Regions from separate parts of the Homo sapiens genome. Here region 1 is linked to region 2. Evidence: promoter capture Hi-C in human tissues and cell types (Jung and others, 2019). All regions are on one chromosome and are shown on one strand. Each heading gives the region's core, a stretch centred on a gene start or on the middle of the fragment in contact. The rest is flanking DNA. Distances are from core to core; before and after follow the strand shown.

Region 1 (3,056 bases), core at 175-2,674, 410 kb after region 2:
ATTGCAGCAACAGAAAATGGACATGGCACAGCAGGGGTATTGAATACACTGATACCTAGAGTTGGCAGGGCATTGTATTTCACTTGAACTAATGGAAATGGTGTTCCCCATCGCCCAAAATACAGCAATCACTGTCAGCGGCAAGCACCCGCTTACCATGGCTGTTTCTGTCCATTTGACATTCTTGTTAGGTATTATTGAGATAGATGACATGCCAGCCTTACAAATCTTGAGAGAGTTAAGGTCACTATCTTCATTTTTAACCTCAACACACACTCTTTGAAAACCAGATCTTCCTTTTCTGAGCAGCAATAGACACATTTTGGAAATAAGTGCATGTTATATTAGTAGAATTCACAAGCAATTCCAATAACATATAGAACACAATTTTTACACTTAGTGTTCCTCTTAGATGGGCAGATTTTATAAGGAAGTTAAAAAGAGAAACTGATATCCCTATATTTAAATGAGACATTTTAGAAAAAGATGTTTATCTCACATTATTCATTAGAAACCGCAAAAGAGATCTCAGACCTCTGTCTTCTTTGAAATATCTACTTTGATTAAAATTCTGGAAGATATGTAATGGGCAAGGGAAAAAGAAAACCAGAGAAAAGACTTTAAAATCCGTTAATATATAGGAAAATTAGAGACTTATCTAAATGATCTAAAGAACTTAGTTATTTGTTAAATCGATGTTCATTACATTAGAAAGTGCTATTTGTGCATTTCAACATAAAACCACATAATTAATAAGAAAACGAACATCAAATCTATGTCTGATTTGAAGGTAAAGTCCTCTGGATTCATATTCATTCTGAAATCCATTCCCCTCCAGGACCTTCTGCCATGCTGTACCCACACGTATGCATTTCTCATCACTGTGTATTCATTTGTTTGCATTATTAAACTGTAAGTTCCTAGAGGTCAGGAAAGACCATCATTTGTTAAATACATTCACCAGATGCTTGGTATTTGGGAAATATTTCATACAAATTAGGTTCACAGAAATGTATCCATCCAAGCTTATTCTAATTATAGAAACACTTGTGTGAGAATTTAAGTAAAAAATTAGAAAATCGTGATGGGAAAATATGAAACAGTGTGGCTGTCAGGCCAGGTCAATATTGCAACAAATGCTACATAATCTATGAAGGGACGATTTCTTGAGCTTTGCCAAAGAATAAGGAAAACAGACAATTCTGTTTTGGATAACATGTCACTAAGCAGACACATATCACTTGTGGACATTATTTTTTATGATGGATAAGGTTTTAATTATTTCCTTCTTGGGGGTAAGATTGGATATAGGGTACAGCAAGGGTAGATTACCCTGAATTCCCATTTGTTGGCATCCATGACAAGTCTTAAATCAGGTCCTTTTGTCTTCTTGCTTTTAAATCTCATCCATGTCTCCCTAGTAAGTGACTGCAGGCACTGGGGACAGATCAGTGACAAGATCAGTTTCTGAAATCCAAGAGACTTCCAGACCCTTAGGAGGAGGAGTTATAGGTAGGATTTTGTTCTAGGGAACTCTAAGGGGAAAATTATATTATTTGGTTTGTACTAAAATATTATATTGATATAGTTTGAAATAAGTAGAACTTCAACTGATACTCTAAGAACTTTTTATTATTTGAAAATTGGCCTTATAATAGACTTTGACTTAAAGAGTTCCCATAATCACAGAGTGGTTGTCAATACTCCAAAAGTAATTTTAAGAAAACATTCACATATTTAAAAATTAATAATGGGATCAGCAAATATTTACTACACATGTATTGTGTTATGGGCACACATCGCTAGGATGAAGAAATGCATAAGATCTGGTCCTCAGAATTTGCATAGTCTGTTAGTGTCAGAGAAAATAGGTTACAACTACAGGATGATGAGAGCAGCAACAGAAACAGATGCAGAGGAACACAGAGAAAGTGATGGTGGATTGTGTCGGCAGTAGCGGGAGGTAGGCAGGAGGAGGTTAGGGAAAGTTGTCCTGAGGAAATGAAATCTGAACAAGATGTTTGATAAGGTTTGGAGGTGGATGTGGAGGAAGGATATTTCAGGCAATGGGCCAGCATATGCACAGCCATAGAGGTGTGGAACAGCAGTTTGGCCTTGTGAGTGTTGATTTCTGGGGCAAGGAGAAGGAGCAGACCAGGAGCTGGAGAGCAGCCATGGACCAAGTCAGGGAGCTCGTATATCAAATCCCCTACAGCTATGCTGCCCAGTTGGGGAGCCACAACCCACATGTGGCTGTTCAAGTTAACAATAACCAAAGTTAAATAAAATAGGCTGGGCACAGTGGTTCACGCCTGTAATCCCAGCACTTTGGGAGGCCGAGGCAGGTGAATCACTTGAGTTCAGGAGTTCGAGACCAGCCTCGCCAACATGGTGAAAACCCATCTCTAGTAAAAATACAAAAATTAGCTGGGCATGGTGGTGTGTGTCTGTAATGCCAGCTACTCAGGAGGCTGAGGCAGGAGAATCGCTTGAACCTAGGAGGTAGAGGTTGCGGTGATCTGGTATCATGCCGTTGCACTCCAGCCTGGGTGACAGAGCGAGACTCTGTCTCAAAAAACAAACAAACAAAAATTATTTCCGTAGTTGTATTGGCCACATTTCAAATGTTCAGTAGCCGTATGTGCCTACTGGCTATTGTATGGGACAGTGCAGATTACAGTGAACATTCCCACCATCGGAGAAAATTCTGTTGGACAGCGCCACGCAGAGCCTATAGCCTCTAAAAGAACCAAGCACATAACTTTGTTTCAGATGAGTATAATTCCATGATAACTTGGGTTTAAATTTAAGTATATCATTCTACACTTTAAGAAACTGCTACTTGAATATATTGGGCAGAAGGCTTTAGTTCATGGTCAATTATAGTAAATTTATATTTTAATTTTCTATCATCAACTCACAGAATTCTCACAAGCTTCTCCCTTCTTCCCTCCTGCCCTCTCCATCTCCATTAAACATCACTTGCAAAGTTGGTGGGGTGGGAAAGAGATTAATGATAATTATAGCCAATCTTGATGACAGGTCTCTCCTAAAAG
Region 2 (3,369 bases), core at 700-3,199:
TTTGGCCCCCTCCTCTAAGGCTTTCTCTGGCCTTCCCTTCCTCTCCAGGGTAGTTGCATGCTATGTGTGCCTCTGGTAATCTTTTTTTTTTCATGGCTTTTTTTTTTTTTTTTTTTTGACAGAGTCTCCCTCTGTCGCCCAGGCTGGAGTGCAGTGGTGCCATCCTGGCTCACTGCAACCTCTGCCTCCTGGGTTCAAGCCATTCTCCTGCCTCAGCCTCCTGAATAATCTGGGACTACAGGCATGCACCATCACACCCAGCTAATTTTTGTATTTTTAGTAGAGATGGGATTTTACCACATTGGCCAGGCTGGTCTCGAATGCCTGACCTCAAGTGATCCCCCCGCCTCGGCCTCCCAAAGTGCTGGGATTACAGGTGTGAGCCACCGTGCCCGGTCATTTCTTGCATGGCTTTGCCACACTTTGAAACTGCACATTTTGATTTCTTATCATGGGTGTTTTTTTAAAAAAAATTGAAATTGCACATTTATATGTTCCCATGTTGGGTCCCCCTCATTACGTATTCAGCCAGTAAGGGCAGGATATTTGTGTCCGCTTTCCCAGGGTCCAGCACATGACCTAGCTTGATCAGTACATATTATTGAGCCTCGACAAATATGAGATTGGGCTCAAGAAATATTTATTGGGCTCAGTGAGTATTATTGAATGAATGAATATGGCCTTTCCGGAGCCTTTCCCCAAGGTCCAACACAATTGCCGAATTAATGCAGCCGAGGACACAGCATCCAGTTCCTACTCCTGCAGCCCAGTTACCCCCATCCAACACCACCCCCCTACCCAACCCCCGCTGAAAAGCGGACCTGTGTTCAGAACCTGCCTTCATACTTTTCAGCCATGCTCTTTGGAATAATGAAAGATACGAAGAAGTCAGTGGGAAGATAGACATGGGGAGGGGGACATAGAGGGTGCCTTTGCGTTTTGCTACCCAGGACCCAGGACTCAAGGGCAGGGTGGTCTTGGCCTGGGGTCGCCGTCCTCTTTAAGGGGCGGGTCAAGGGACCCTGGCTGCCCGGGCCTCTGCCACCGACCCTCTGCTCCCTCCGACCCTCACCGCCCAGCACCCAGCCCTCTGCCCCCACCGGCCACCCTGTAACAGCCCAGCGGGTTCACCTTGCCTGCTGCCTAGACAGAGCCGATTTATCAAGACAGGGGCATTGCAATAGAGAAGGAGTAATTCACACAGATCAGGCTGCGCGGGACACTGGGCAGAGTTTTTAAGGACAACTTGGTGGGTGGGGGAAGGCCAGTGAGTCGAGAGTGCTGATTGGTTGGGTCGGAGGTGAAATCTTAGGGAACTGAAGCTGTCCTCTTGTGCTGAGTTAGTTCCGGAGTGGGGGCCTAAGATCAGATGACCTGGTTTATCGATCTGGTAGGTGTCAGTTGATCCATCAAGTGCAGGGTCTGCAAAATATCTTGAGCACTGATCTTATTAGCAGTTTAGGGAGGGTCAGAATACTGTAGCCTTGCTGCCTGACTCCTAAATCATACTTTCTAATCTTTTGGTTAATTTGTTAGTCCTACAAAGACAGTCTATTCCCCAGGCAAGAAGGAGGTTTGTTTTCAGAAAGGGCTGTTATCATCTTTGTTTTAAACTATAAAGTATAAACTAAGTTCCTCCCAAAGTTAGTTCAGCCAACGCCCAGGAATGAACAAGGACAGCTTGGAGGTTAGAAGCAAGATGGAGTTGGTTAGGTCAGATCTCTTTCATTATCTGTTATAATTTTGCAATGGCGGTTTCAACCTAGTGGCCGAACCCGTCCCATCCATCTCCCGCGCCCCTCCGCTCCACCACAGCCCTCGGTGCCTCGGTTCCCTGCACCTGCACTCCCGCCCGCCCCCGACGCTCCGCCCCCGACGCTCCGCCCGCCCTCCACGCTCCGCCCCGCCCTCCCGGCCCCCGCCTGCGCCCGCGCCCTGGGCTGGTGCCCGCCACCCCAGCGATCTCATACTGGCCCCTGGGCGCACGGTGACCCTGCGGCTGCCCGGCCCCTGCCTCCGCCCGCGCGGCCCCCTCGCTCAGGTCGCGGGCGCCCGGGGCCTGGCTTCGCGTGGGTCCTGGCTCCTCCCGTTCCGCAGTTGGTGCCGTCTGACAGCCCCTTCCGCGCGGCGCGGCGCGGCGCGGCGGGTGTCGGGCGGGGCGCGGGCCTCCGGCCTGAGGCCCGGCGAGGTGCTGGAGGGAGCGGGGCGCGGATCCGGCCCAGATGGGCAGCTCCGTCCGCGGGGTCAGGGCCGGGCTTCGGCTTCACCGCAGCCTCGCCTGAGCGGGCGCCTCTGAAGTGGAGGGCGGGCCGCCTGGGCCGCGGGCCTCGGGAGGATGGTGGCGCCCTGGCGCGTCTCCGTCAGGGTTTGCCTGTCGCACCTGAGGTGCTTCGAGCTCAGACAGGGACTCAGCCTCCTGAGGCCCTCCGAGTGCCCTCGCGATGCCAGGCTCTGCTGGCTTCTGCTGGGCACTTTGCCCAAGGTCGTCTCCCTGTGCGGGGACGTGGGTGAGGGGGCCCCTGACGTTCTGAGTCGGCGAAGGGTCCGCTGCAGCGGGGCGGCTGGCGCGGGGCCCGCGGAGAGCCTCCCCCGAGCGGGACCTCTGGGCGGCGTCTTCCTGCATCTCCGCCTCTGGCTTCGCGCCGGCGCTCTGTTGGTGAAATTCTTCCCCCTCCTACTCCTCTACCCCCTCACCTACCTGGCTCCCAGCGTCTCCACCCTCTGGCTCCACCTGCTTCTGAAAGCCACCGAGACCTCAGGCCCAACCTACATCAAACTGGGCCAGTGGGCCAGCACCCGGCGCGATCTGTTTTCGGAGGCTTTCTGTGCCCAATTTTCCAAGCTGCATGTCCGAGTGACGCCCCACCCGTGGACTCACACTGAGCGCTTCCTTCGGCAGGCTTTTGGGGATGACTGGGGGAGCATCCTCTCTTTTGAGAACCGGGAACCTGTGGGCTCAGGCTGCGTGGCCCAGGTGTACAAAGCATACGCCAACACTGCCTTCCTGGAGACTGACAGCGTCCAGAGACTTGGCAGGGCCTCCTGTCTGCCGCCCTTCTCACATACTGGGGCAGTCGGTGGGCTGAGAGAGCTCTTTGGATACCTTGGAAATGGCCGGAAACCTCCAGAAAATCTCGCAGACCAGTCGTTTCTAGAAAGGCTGCTCCTCCCTAAAGCTGACCTGGTTGGATCAAATGCAGGGGTGTCTCGGGCTCAGGTCCCTGGCCACCAACCTGAGGCCACCAACCTCATCTCCGTGGCAGTGAAAGTAAGTGTTGTGAGAGCTCACAGCTCACCTACCCACTGAGCTATCCCAGATCAGAAACAACCGCCATGCAAATCGCCCCCACGTTTATTTCTATTTGCCTG

What was found. Contacts are between HindIII fragments. The study calls those that stand out against the background at their distance.
Region 1: a contact is called between a fragment that was not itself captured here and the fragment with the promoter of ADCK2 in region 2, in 1 of the 25 tissues and cell types used here (thymus).

Annotation. Positions count from the first base shown.
Region 1 is chr7:141,076,715-141,079,770 of GRCh38, forward strand. All of the region lies in intron 1 of TMEM178B (transmembrane protein 178B), which reads left to right. Among named protein-coding and RNA genes, the nearest start is that of TMEM178B, 4.2 kb to the left of the region's middle. The HindIII fragment of the contact is 3,666 bases long and covers 1-3,056 here.
Region 2 is chr7:140,670,996-140,674,364 of GRCh38, forward strand. ADCK2 (aarF domain containing kinase 2) reads left to right here and starts at 1,950. Exons shown (of 8, transcript NM_052853.4): 1 at 1,950-3,268. The coding sequence starts at 2,336. RefSeq lists a silencer at 1,885-2,344. The HindIII fragment of the contact is 30,105 bases long and covers 1-3,369 here.